Linked DNA regions of Homo sapiens: all the other regions are linked to region 2. The links are contacts of gene promoters, found by promoter capture Hi-C in human tissues and cell types (Jung and others, 2019). All regions are on one chromosome and are shown on one strand. The core of a region is centred on a gene start or on the middle of the fragment in contact, and the rest is flanking DNA. Distances in the headings are between cores, read along the strand shown. Region 1 overlaps CCDC62 (coiled-coil domain containing 62). Region 2 holds the start of SBNO1 (strawberry notch homolog 1). Region 3 overlaps RSRC2 (arginine and serine rich coiled-coil 2).

Evidence for each region. The method cuts DNA at HindIII sites, captures the fragments that hold promoters and counts their contacts. A contact is called where the count stands out against the background at its distance.
Region 1: a contact is called between a fragment that was not itself captured here and the fragment with the promoter of SBNO1 in region 2, in 1 of the 25 tissues and cell types used here (dorsolateral prefrontal cortex).
Region 3: a contact is called between a fragment that was not itself captured here and the fragment with the promoter of SBNO1 in region 2, in 1 of the 25 tissues and cell types used here (dorsolateral prefrontal cortex).

The regions. Positions count from the first base shown.
Region 1 is chr12:122,827,211-122,831,699 of GRCh38, forward strand. It overlaps CCDC62 (coiled-coil domain containing 62), which reads left to right. Exons shown (of 13, transcript NM_201435.5): 13 at 1-318. Among named protein-coding and RNA genes, the nearest start is that of HIP1R, 6.0 kb to the right of the region's middle. RefSeq lists a silencer at 2,478-2,678. The HindIII fragment of the contact is 4,270 bases long and covers 817-4,489 here.
Region 2 is chr12:123,362,460-123,366,841 of GRCh38, forward strand. It overlaps SBNO1 (strawberry notch homolog 1), which reads right to left and starts at 2,388. Exons shown (of 32, transcript NM_001167856.3): 1 at 2,242-2,388. It overlaps MIR8072 (microRNA 8072), which reads right to left and starts at 2,384; the gene lies at 2,305-2,384. SBNO1-AS1 (SBNO1 antisense RNA 1) reads left to right here and starts at 2,489. Exons shown (of 2, transcript NR_157806.1): 1 at 2,489-2,656; 2 at 3,066-3,345. RefSeq lists enhancers at 1,054-1,772, 1,429-1,478, 2,939-3,148 and silencers at 1,959-2,068, 2,109-2,188, 2,299-2,538, 2,669-2,768. The HindIII fragment of the contact is 18,176 bases long and covers 1-4,382 here.
Region 3 is chr12:122,520,257-122,524,357 of GRCh38, forward strand. It overlaps RSRC2 (arginine and serine rich coiled-coil 2), which reads right to left. Exons shown (of 10, transcript NM_023012.6): 2 at 1,887-2,043; 3 at 1,129-1,172. Among named protein-coding and RNA genes, the nearest start is that of RSRC2, 4.6 kb to the right of the region's middle. The HindIII fragment of the contact is 5,664 bases long and covers 1-4,101 here.

The sequences.
Region 1 (4,489 bases), core at 1,702-4,201, 530 kb before region 2:
AAAATATGTTTCCTTGGTTTCTTTTTATTTTACAGGAGTAAAATAAGGAAGGAACGTTCATCACTTTAAACTGAACCTGGCAAGTTAATTTCCTCAGGAATGGGGATGTATTTTTTTAAGCATTGCAGATATCAAAGTTCTATTGTGCTGAATAAATGCCCCTTTGTTAACAGGTCTCAGTGTTACTTCAGAGATGATTTTCATGAGCGGGGAAGAGCCACCTCATTTAGCCTTTTTAATTAGGGTGCTGAAAAGAGAAGTTGGGTGAGGTTTGGTTATGTTCTTTATCAATGCGTGCTTTCTCCCTCAGGCTGGGCTGTCTAGAGCAAAACGGAGAAAGGTATAGTTGCTTCTGAGCTGCTGCCTGCCAAGTAGAAACCTAAAATGACCCTTGGGGAGCGTGACTTCCTATCTAAGAATCAAAATATTAAATTTTCTCCTCCTTTTCATGTTCATGACTGCACATCAACTTGCCTAGTGAAAAGGCAACACTGAATAGATGCTAAATAGGAACATGTCAGGGAACTAAAGGATTTGATAACAATTAAACATTATTTTATGGCTAAATGTATTTTAGCTCATAGGATTATAGTACCTACGACACCTGACACCTATTGTATCCCACCAGCTTATCGTTCCATATGCAATCCAACAATGAGAAATTTCAGCTGGGTGTGGCGGCTTATGCCTGTAATTCCAGCACTTTGGGAGCCTAAGGCAGGTGGATCACTTGAGATCAGAGGTTCGAGACCAGCCTGGCCAACATGACAAAACCCCCTCTCTACTAAAAATACAAAAAATTAGCTGGGCATGGTGTCACGCGCCTGTAATCCCAGCTACTTGGGAGGCTGAGGCAGGAGAATTGCTTGAACCCAGGAGGTGGAGGTTGCAATGAGCCAAGATCGTACCACTGCACTCCAGCTTGGGTGACAGAGTGAGGTCCCGTCTCAAAAAAAAAAAAAAAAAAAAAAAAAGAATGAGAAATTTAATGTTAGCAATGCATCTAGCTCAACCGAAGTTATTTATTTATTTATTTATTTATTTATTTATTTTTTTGAGACAGAGTCTCTCTCTGTCGCCCAGGCTGGAGTGCAGTGGCGTGATCTCAGCTCACTGCAACCTCCGCCTTTCAGGTTCAAGTGATTCTCCTGCCTCAGCCTCCCGAGTAGCTGGGACTACAGGTGTGCGCCACCATGCCCAGCTAAATTTTGTATTTTTAGTAGAGACGGGGTTTCACCATATTGGCAAGGCTGGTCTTGAACTTCTGACCTTGTGATCCACCTTCTCGGCCTCCCAAAGTGCTGGGATTACAGATGTAAGCCACTGCACCTGGCCCAAACTGAGTCATTTAAATGACAGGATTTCGTTTGTTTTTATGGCTAAATAGTATTCCATTATGTATATATATACTACTTTTTTTTTTTTGAGACCGAGTCTCACTCTGTTGCCCAGGCTGGAGTGCAGTGGCTCAATTCCAGCTCACTGCAACCTCCACCTCCCGAGTTCAAGCAATTCTCCTGCCTCAGTCTCCTGAGAAGCTAGGATTACAGGTGCCCACCACCACTCCTGGCTAACTTTTTGTTTTTTTAGTAGAGACGGGGTTTCGTCATGTTGGCCAGGCTGGTGTTGAACTCCTGGCCTAATGTGATCCTCCCAACTCAGCCTCCCAAAGTGCTGGGATTACAGGCGTGAGCCACCACATTTCTTTATCCACTCATCTGTTGATGGGCATTTAGGTTGCTTCCACATCTTGGCTGTTGTGAGCAGTGCTGCAGTGAACGTGGAGTGCAGATACCCCTGACCTAAGCTTTGAGCAATTTCTGTTAGAGAGGCAGTCTCCTTTTTTTTTCTATACTTTAATGGATGCACAGAGGCAGTCTCATAGAGTATTTGAAATAGTTACAAGATAAAACTAGATTTTAGCATTTATGTCTTATCAGCAACATTCTTAAGATCAACACATCTGAAGAGGAGGCAAATGAATTATACTACAATCTGCCTGCCAGAAGTAATCTCAGCATTGGAAAAGACTGATATAAGGGTATTTTTAGAATCTGTGAATGGATTTTTTTTTTAATTTTATTTTTAGTGACAGGGTCTCACTCTGTCACCCAGCCTGGAGGGCAGTGGTATCATCATAGCTCACTGTAGCCTCAAACTCTTGGGCTCAAGTGATTCTCCTGCTTCAGCCTCCCAATTAGCGAGGACTCCAGGCACGTGCCACCATGCCTAATTTTTTTTTCTTTAGATGGAGTCTCACTCTGTCACCCAGGCTGAAGTGCGGTGGCACGATGTCAGCTCACTGCAACCTCCATCTCCCAGATTCAAGAGATTCTTCTGCCTCCCGAATAGCTGGGATTACAGGCACCTGCCACCATGCCAGGCTAATTTTTGTATTTTTAGTAGAGACGGGGTTTCACCATGTTGGCCAGGCTGGTCTCGAACTCCTGACCTCAGGTGATCCGCCCACCTCAGCCTCCCAAAGTGCTGGGGTTACAGGTGTGAGCCCCCGCGCCCGGCCAACAGATATTTAAAAACAGAAATAGAAATACCCCCAAAGAAAAAAAGTTCTGAATTAAGATAAAACATAAACACTAAAAGCAGCTTTACCCCAAAAGTGCCAAGAGAATGCGTCTAGAACTTCTTGGCTGTGTGGGATAAGGTTGGCTCCATACCTTCCAGGAAGGAGACTGAAGACTGAATCCTTGTTATGGTCTGGCAAACTGATCCTGGAGTTTTCTCCTGTGGCTTTGTGTGGTTTGACACCTGTAGCTGGGGTGGTGGGTTTGCAGTGTTGTACTTTTGTTTCTCTTGAGCCATTTGATGATGATTTTGTTAGGACACATTGCAGGAAAGTTCATTATTCTAGGCCTTCAACAGAATAATCTTAGCAACCTCCAGTGTGATAGAGAACAGAGTGAACAGGATCAAAATAAGAAACCAGACACATTCATCAAGACTGCAGCTGACAAGGAGGTTTAAAAACCAGAATGGGGCCAGGTGCAGTGGCCCACGCGTGTAATCCCAGCACTTAGAGAGGCCAAAGCTCGCACATCATTTGAGATCAGGAGTTCGAGACCAGCCTGGCCAACATGGCGAAACACCTCTCTACTAAAAATACAAAAATTAGCTGGGCGTGGTGGTGGGTGCCTGTAATCCCAGCTACTCAGGAGGCTGAGGCACAAGAATCACTTCAACCTGGGAGGCAGAGGTTGCAGTGTGCTGAGATTGAGCCATGCCTCCAGCCTGGGCAACAGAGCCAGACTCTGTCTCAAACAAACAAACAAACAAACAAAAAACACCCAGAATGGTCTTTGAGAGAAGTTGATTGAATGAAAAGTGTACATGAATCAGTTCTTTAAAGGATGATGTCTGGGTTCTCAGCCAGATGCATGCTTAAGAAACCCAACCACAACAACAACAAAAAGAAACCCAACAAAAAATCAAAGAATTTTGAGCACACAGTAGGTGCTTTGCTGGCCACTGGAGACACAACAATGAGCAAAGCAGACAATCTAGTCGTAGAAACACACTAATCTAAGAATCCCATACATAGTTCACAAGAGACTGGTTAGTGCTACAAAAGAAAGCTTTGAGATATGATGACAGCTTATAATAGGGACTCAGGTGAAGGGTGGAGTGTTAAGAGAATGCTTCCTTAAAGAAGTGACATCTGAGCCAAGAGTTAAAGACAAGTGGATGCTAAGTAGGGCGAACGGGAAGCAGAAGAGAATTCCAGGCAGTAGGAACAGCATGTGCAAAGGCTCTGAGGTGGGAGGGAACATGACGCATCTGGGACCTGATGGGCCAGGATGGTGCAAGATGAAGCCAGGGACAGAGGCTGGGGCCAGATCATGCATACGAGTCGATGAGTCAGTGTGGGTGTGGTAGCATACCATGTTTTAGTGGGCCAGATGATGTAAACTCTCCTGTGCATCTTGGATTTTCCTTAAAACGAGGTCTTATTTGTATTCCAATTGCTTTGCTTTTGTAATAGGGGTGAGCAGGAATTCAACAGCCCTCGAGATACACCAAAACAGAACCCTGATTCTGATGGCATGAAGAATCTCAGGCCGGGAGCAGTGGCTCCTGCCTGTAATGCCAGCACTTTGGGAGGCTAAGGTGGGAGGATTGCTTGAGTCCAGGAGTTCAAGACCAGTCTGGGCAACGTGGTGAGACCCCCGTCTCTACAAAAAATTTAAAAATTAGCCAGGCATGGTGGTGCACACCTGTGGTCCCAGCTATTCTGGAGGCTGAGGTGGGAGGATCATTTGAGCCCAGGAGGTTGAGGCTGCAATGAGCCATAATCCAGCCACTGCACTCCAGCAGGGGTAACAGAGCAAGCAAGACCCCGTATCCCCCCCGCCAAAAAAAAAGCCAGTCAGTGACAGGGACAATAGTAGACCAGGCCTCCTGCCTGAAGATGTTAGAGAGATGAACCAGAAAAATTAAGAGTGGGGAAGTTTGGGCCAGGCACAGTGGCTCACGC
Region 2 (4,382 bases), core at 1,138-3,637:
AAAAAAAAAGGATTCTGACGGGGGGGCCAAGGGCGGTGGCTCACGGCTGTAATTCCAGCACTCCGGGAGACAGAGGTGAGTGGATCACTTGAGGTCACTAGTGTGAGACCAGCCTGGCCGACATGGTGAAACCCCTTTCTGCCAACTACATAAAAAAAAATTAGCCAGGTGTGGTGGCACATGCCTGCAATCCCAGCTACTAGGGAGACTGAGGCAGGAGAATTGTTTGAACCCTGAAGGCAGAGGTTGCAGTGAGCCGAGTTCATACCACTACACTCCAGCCTGGGCAACACAGCAAGACTCCGCCTCAAAAAAAAAAAAAAAAAAAAAAAAGATTCTGAAGGGGCCAGGCACAATGGCTCATGCCTGTAATCCCACCACTTCGGGAAGCGGAGGCCAGAAGATTGCTTGAGGCCAGTAGCTGCCTCCCAACATGGTGAGACCCCCGCCTCTCAACAAAAAAATTAAAAAAAAAAAAATTAGCTGCTGTAGTGGTGCACATCTGTAGTCCCAGCTACTCCGGAGGCTGAAGTGGGACGATCGCTTGAGCCCAGGAGTTCAAGCTGCAGTGAGCTATGACCACGTCACTGCACTTCAGCTTGAGCAACAGAGTGGGACCCTGTCTCAAAAATTTAAAAATAGCATAAATATTCCAAACGCAATTATATGGAATAAGTTGGAATGGAAGATAAAAAGCAGAAGCCAGAGAAAAAAAGTAAAGTCGTCTCCCATCGGAAAAATTTTGGAAACAACTTCTTTAAAAGATGAGAGAAAATGTTCCCTTGCTTGCAAAATTAATGTCCCACTCAAGTCACCAGTAGGAAATTCTGCTATCTTCTGTGCAACGATGATAGCTTTCCCTACGCTTATGAAAATCAATTCTGATTGCTAGAAAATATGGTGGAAAATAGAATCCCTCTGTACTGTCAGCTCGCAGAATTATCTGAAAGTGTTAAGTCAATTCCTGCTAGGGCACTCCGGATGACAGTTCTCTGCACCCTTCTGGATGACTCTTTAGAAACCATATTCCATCCCTAATTCTGGCTGTCTAGAATATATGAAACATTTAACTCAACATAAAATGATAATAGCCAACTTTCAAAGGTCAAAGGGGACCAGTTTATAACCTTCCCTCAACACGTGTTCAGTACAAACTTCCGGGTGCACTTACAATTGGCTGCGCAATTCAATGGATAAAAACGTTGCTTTATTTGTCTCTCATTTTCTGGCCCGTTCTTTTCCCACGTTTCTCAACCAGCGACTCCCCAAAACAAAAGCCTCCCACAGTAAACCGAGCACGCACATAAAAAGAGCTTCTCTGTGCGAGGATCAAGTTAGTGGTCCGCAAACATTAACCAAACAGAAGCACAAAGCAGGGGTGGGAAGGGGAGGAGCTGGATGCCAGGGTCAGGAAAGAAACAATCAGAAGGGTTTAGGAACATCCAAATCTCCTCAGCGGTTAAACCGACCCCAAACCACTTCTGGGAAACCACCGGTATCCACTGCTTTGGGGAACTCTGGATGCTCGTTATGCCAAACGCTCTCAAAGTAAGCAAATCCCCAACTGCCGTTCCCCTCCATGGGTAATTCTTAGGGTCTGGGAGGTGAGCTCGCCCGCCGAGGCAGAACTAAGCGAGTCGCCTGGAGAGGCGTGAAGGGAGCCTGCACGTGTCCCCCGCGGCTTCCCCACCGCCCCAAGAGCGGGGCATGTACGAGACCGCGCTGTGGGGTTCAGATTTAGGAAGGACGACCGCGTCGCCTGCCTCCCTCCCTCGCCCAGAGCCGGGAGCAATGCTGGGGCACGAAAGAGGACTTGGGAAGGATCCGGTCCTTACTTTCCCCGCGGGTCCCGGACCCGCAGCCCCCGGGTTGTGAGGCGGAAGCCAAAGGGGCGAACCCAGCGGAGCCGGCGTGCACAGACCCTGCCCCGCGGTCCAAGAGGGGTGCCTCCGGCCCGGGACAGCGGGGCTCCCGGAGCCCGAAAGCCCCACGAGCGGCGACAGCGGGGCCCGGCGCTGACGAACAGAGGAAGCGAGTACAACGGAGCCGCCGTCGGGAACATGCCCCCGAGGGCCCCGGAGCGCGCGGCCGCGAGGAGCGGCAAGCGGCGAGGGAGGCCCCAAGCCGGGGCGAGGTGGCTGTCCCCCCAGCCTGGCCCCGCACGGCCCCCCGAGGGTGGGAGTGGGAGGCTGTCCGGGAGGGGGAGTGTGGAAGGAGAAAAGGGCCAAGGGAAGGACTTACTTTCCCCGCGGGACCCGGCGCCAGCACAGCTCCTCCCGGGAGGTGTGAGTTTGAAGGACCAGAGGCGACTGGAGCGGAGGCGGCGGTGGCGGCGGCAGCAGCGGCGTCCTGCTCTGCCTACCTCCCCGCCGCCATCTTGACGCCCCTCCCCCAGCCCCCCCGCCCCGCCGGGAGGGGCGGGGGAGGGGCAACGGATGAGGCGCCGCGCGCACGCAGCGCCCTCACGTGACTTCCTCCCTCCTCCCCCACCCGCCTCTCTGCGCCCCTCTCCGCCCCGCCTCCCTCCTAGGTGAAGGAAGATGATTTCCCCCCCATCTTGACCACCCCCCAGTCTTCGCCGCCAAAAACGGACTCCGCCGGCTATCCTCGGCCCGGTACCAGTTGTTGGATCCAAGAGAATTCCGGAACCCAAACGGTCCATTACCGCGGCTCTGGGGTGGGCGAGGGGTGAGGGGGCCGGGTTTCCGCGAAGGGGGAGGGGGAAGGCGAAGGCCACCTAGGAGAGTCACGTGACTACTGTTTCCGCCGGCGCTCACGGAGAGCTCGCGGTAATTCCGTTTCCCCGCCCTTTTTTCCCCGCGGCCTGTCGGGAAGAAGGTCCGCGTGCCAGGGCTATCGGGAGGTCGGCCGGAGGGCCGCGCGCATGCGCCCCGCGCCTGCTTTCAAACTCCGGTTAGGAAGGGCCTGGAGCTATTTTCAGAACCTGTTAGGGTGGGGAGCTACGGCCCAGGAAGTTACCTAGCAGCGTTTCTGTCACTTGGAAGATCTCTTCATTACCTAGTTAGTCCTAGAAACAAAATGTTTACATATTCATTGCTTGTTAGGCTCGCTCAAAGCACTTTATTGGCAGTGAAACCGCAAGTAACCCGGAGCCCTCGGCGCGACCACGGCTAGAATCAGAGCCTAAGGCGTGTGAGCTCAGCCATCCCACGTCTGTCTTCACGCTCATACGCAAGCCCGACACACCGGGGCTCCCACTTAATGAATACTGAAGAGTAGGGCTGTCCCTACCGCTTCTCACTTCCTTGTTTTCATCTTTTCGTTATTATTAAGCGACCTAACACAATAAACATATTACCTTGTTGGTAACCCTTTTGTAAAGTCATTCTGAAAGTGCTGTTTGACTCCGTTGCTTGGGTAATAAGCACGCCTGGGTGATTCTTGCCCCCTACTGGCTGCGCATCCTACAAGCCTAGTGCTGAAAGCAAACCAAGTAGCTGGAACAGTTGGAGGTTACAGTGTGAACTCTTCCAGAGACAAAGTATTCGGGGAAAGAAAGGAAAAAGTAGGCACAGAAAGAATAGGAAACTTCAGTGTTTGTACACATAGATATGTATTATATATCTATGTATACATTTATAAATATTTTTAAAGTGCTAACTAATCGCTTTACTAATTACATTATTTCATTTAATCCTCTCACACACATAGAAAAAAAACCTATAAAGACAAAAATAAAAAATATTTTAGGCCGGGCGCAGTGGCTCACGCCTGTAATCCCAGCACTTCGGGAGGCCGAGGTGGGCGGACCACCTGAGGTCAGGAGTTCGAGACCAGCCTGGCCAACATGGTGAAACCCCATCTCTGCTAAAAATACAAAATTTAGCTGGGGCTTGGTGGCGGGCACCTGTAATCCCAGCTACTCTGGAGGCTGAGGCAGGAGAATCGCTTGAACTCAAGAGACGGAGGTTGCAGTGAGCCGAGATCGTGCCATTGCACTGCAGCCTGGGCGACAGAGCGAGAATCCGACTCAAAAACAAAAAACAAAAAAAACCTTAGGCACAGGCCAGGTGTGGTGGCTCACGCCTGTAATCCCAACACTTTGGGAGGCTGAAACGGGGATCTCAGCCAGGAGTTTGAGACCAGACTTGGGTAACAAAGTGCAACCTCATCTCGACAAAAAAACATTTTTCTTTTTGAGACGGGGTCTCGCTCTGTCGGTCGCCCAGGCTGGAGTGCAGTAGCGCGATCTCGGCTCACTGCAACCTCTGCCTCCTGGGTTCACGCCATTGTCCTGCCTCAGCCTCCCGAGTAGCTAGGACTTTTTTTTTTTTTTTTTTGTATTTTTAGTGGAGACGGGGTTTCACCGTGGTCTCGATCTCCTGACCTCGTGATCCACCCATCTCGGCCTCCCAAAGTGC
Region 3 (4,101 bases), core at 1,529-4,028, 840 kb before region 2:
GACACAATTAAATTTTAGTTTCATTGCCAGTTCTCTATAGGAGCTTAGAAAAGAAATTTTCCTTGGTTTTGCTATAACGAGGCAGACTGGAAAAGTCTTAAGTGGTTAAACTTCTAAAGGTTTTAAAGTTTATTTCAAACCAGTTTTTCAAACATAACATTACTATTAATTTAAAAAAAACATTAAAACCCTTAACTGATTTAAGATATATTTAAGGGAAATAGGAGTTTGAATGACTAATAGTTACCTTATCATGAAGTAGGCTTATTATTTTGCTATCTGAGTCTGCAGCGTCTTCAGTTCAGTCTCTTCGCGCATAAGCACGCTGAGTATGATTTATTATAGAAATGTTATCATGTGAGCTAAACAAAATAGTCATTTTCACAAAAACTCTCCTAAATTAAAAATTTAACAGAGCTTCCATTACGGGAAGAGGTGAAGTCCCTGCCCACTCTTGTTTTAGGAGTCCCTTACCCAGCCCCCACAAGACTCTTCTCCCTTTCTGGCTACTACTTCTACACTTCCTTATTGGCTCATTCTTTGTCTTCTCAGGTGGGTGAACAAGTAACTCCTTTGCAATACAGCTGCTGCCTTTCTTTTTCCTCAAGTTTTGGTGTCACCGCCACCTTTTCAGCTGTCCCTCACTCAAACCTTTATTTCAAAATTCAATACTACTATTAGGGAAACTGAACTAGTTTGCAAAAGAAAAGAGAACTCCTGTTATCGTTCATAAGGAAAAAGCAGCGCACAGATATCTAGGGTATTGCTATGTAAAGATGATTGCTGTTTAAAAATCCTGAGCAACTGTCAGGCACCAGGAGACTCGGGACCTCAGATTAATGGAAGCTCTGTGTGACAGGCCTAAAAAAACCAATCATATTCTTCATATGAAATTTTTATTGTGAATATTTTCACAATATAATAAAATTAAAGTTTTGAAGGTACTTTTCACATAAACATCTTCTTCAAAAATGATGAATCAAAATCATGCTTATTTTATAACCCAATAAACCTTTTAAATTTCAAGTTTTGTACTTACCTTGACAACGTCTTATATTCATACAAATCTTTCTACCAGACACTTTATAAGTATTTTAAAGTACCTATTCACTACAAAGTGTTAATTACCTCTTTGCTTCTGCTCCGGCTCCTGTGTTTTCTTCCTTCATTATCTGTGAATACACAAAAAAAATAATCACCATAAACAAAGTTGGAGAAACATTTCATCTTAAAAAACTCTTAATGCTGGAGAAAAATGACTCCCATTAGTCTTCTTCCAATGACTAATTTTTTCATGGCACGGGTGGGATTATTCTACATTAATACAACACACATGTGAAACAAATCAAGCAATCTGAGCAAACCAGGACATAAAGCAGCCTAGATACATCTTTTAAACGGTCATAGACTTTCAGTATTTTACATATATTCTGACCAGCCCATCTAGTTTCCTAGTCTACAGCAAATTCATAAGGGGGTTTAATAGAGAGAGGTAAGCCATTAAGAAAAATAAAAACTAAAGAAAATAAACAGGTTGAATTATATTTGATATGTTCCAACATGGTGAAACCCAGTCTCTACTAAAAATACAAAAATAAGCTAGGCGTGGTGGCGCACGCCTATAATCCCAGCTACTCAGGAGGCTGAGGCAGAAGAACTGCCTGAACCCAGCAGATGGAGGTTGCATTGGGCTGAGAGTGTGTCAATTTTTGTATTTTTGGTCCTGGCTCAGGTGATCTGCCTGCCTTGGCCTCCCAAAGTGCTGGCATTACAGGCTTGAGCCACCATGCCCAGCCAACAAACTAAATGTATGTGTCTTCTTATACAACAGGTCTACATATCTTATACAAATGCTGAGAGTTGTAACCACCTTTAAGAATTCATACCTGACTTTCGTTTTCTTTCTCTTGACCTTGATCGTGATCTTGAATAATGATGTTTTGAAGCTCTAGGAGAAACAGATACTTCTGACTGCTCTTTTTTCTTATCTCTATCTGGTGATGTCTTTTCTGGGGCTAGTCCATCTCGCTCTGTATCACTAGCCTAAAAGTTTAAAAACAAATGATTAAAGTTCTTAATTACATTTTAAATGTTTTCAATTTCTTAAAAGAGGGACAAAGGGAGGGAAGATAGCCCCCCACAATCAATAAATCAGAATGCCTGCTTTCCAAGTAACTAAATGTGCTTTGTACACTAATAAGGCTGAATGGCTTGAAATGACGAACCTGATACTAAAGCAAGACCTACATATTTAGACTGATGTATCTTTAATTTTCTAACGATGATTTGTATAACTTTTAAAACATGGGGTGGGGTGGGGGAGGAATAAGGGCTCCAAGTAGTTCTAATAAGCATTCAAGCAGAGAAAATAGTCCTTTTTAGATGTGTGAATGCATTTAGCTGACTTTACCAATACTTTTAAATTAGCATACATGTCAAACATCAAAAATGAGTTGTTAAAGCTTAAAGATACTCAAGACGATAAAATCTTAAAACAATGCCCTAAGAATATTATAAAATAATAAACAGAAAATTAACTTACCTAAGTGAGAACCTCATCTTAATGTCATTAACCCTCTTTAATGAAAACAGCCCCTTGGCACAGTGCTGCTGCAAAATATGGTCTGCCTCTCCTCACATGTGCTCTGGGCTATGAAAACATTAAGTTGTTTCTGCTTTAAAGCATTTTATAAGTAATTATTACAATATAAATTTTACAAGTTTCAACTAATGCAGAAGGTAGACAATGCTCGGCTATCTGACCAGAGAAGATAACATGAAAATAAAATAATTGATACACCTGGGGAATTGATTACTTAGGAAGGGTTGGCAAGCTATGGTCCTCATTCTGTTTCTGTATGGCCTTGAGCTAGGAATGGTTTTTTACGTTTTTTAAAACTATTTTAGGCATATTTAATAAATAACTTCAGTAAATAGCACTGTAAAGACTGAACTGTTAAAACTAAAGGCACTTAAAACGCCAGTGTTGTGGCTCATGCCTGTAATCCTAGCACTTTGGGAGGTTGAGGCAGGCGGATAACCTGAGGTCAGGAGTTTGAGACCAGCCTAGCCAACATGGTAAAACCCTGCTTCTACTAAAAACACAAAAATTAGCCAAGAGTGGTGGGGCGTGCCTGTAATCCCAGCAACTCAGGAGGTTGAGACAGGAGAATGGCTTGAACCCATGAGGCAGACGTTGAAGTGAGCTAAGATTGCGCCACTGCCCCTCCAGCCTGGGAAAGAATGTGACAGAGACTGCACATGGCCCACAAAGCCAAAAATATTTACCGTCTGGCCCTTTACAGAAACAGTTTATGGACTTTTCACGTATAACATCAAACGGAATCTGGATTGAATAAATAGGGAATCGATAGTCTTCAGCAGGAGGAATCACATTAGAGAACTTCCTCCTTTAGGAAAGTTAGTCCAGAAAATGAATACCAAATATCAAGTACAATAAATGGGGGTATTGTATTTTAACAAATTTTAAACAAGTATCAAGTACAATAAATGGGTGTATTGTACTTTAATAAATGAAGTTGTGAGAGGTCGAGTTACTTCAACAAGTATTTACTAAGGGTCAAAAATGTGCCAAAACCAATGCTAGACTTAGGGAATAAAATGATAAATTAAAAACAGAAAGGTTTTGCAGTTCAATTATGAGATGAAAGACATAAATTACGTGTTATTCCTCTAACAATGGCACAAAAAGAACAGTAAGAAATTAACTACCAGGGAGGCTCTCATGCCAGCATATTGTATATGTACTTATTTCTCCAGTCTGGGTGACTTCTGGAACCATAAAATTTTTATGCTGAAAGGTTTTCACCCCTTAGAATAGAGTTCAACTTTCTCGTTTCACAGATGAGATCCAGCAACATTAGCTGACTTGCTTAAAATGATACTGCATCTCCGTATCTTTACTGTTTACTACTAATAAATAATGCTGTATCATTAAGGATGATTCTGATTTTTCACAATGAATTCTGGACACTTTTTTTTTTCATCGTTATCCTTGAGGACTATTTCAGACTCATTTATTACTTGCTGAGTGTTTGTACAGCTTACACTTGGTAAACAGAAGTGATCTCGAAAATTTTA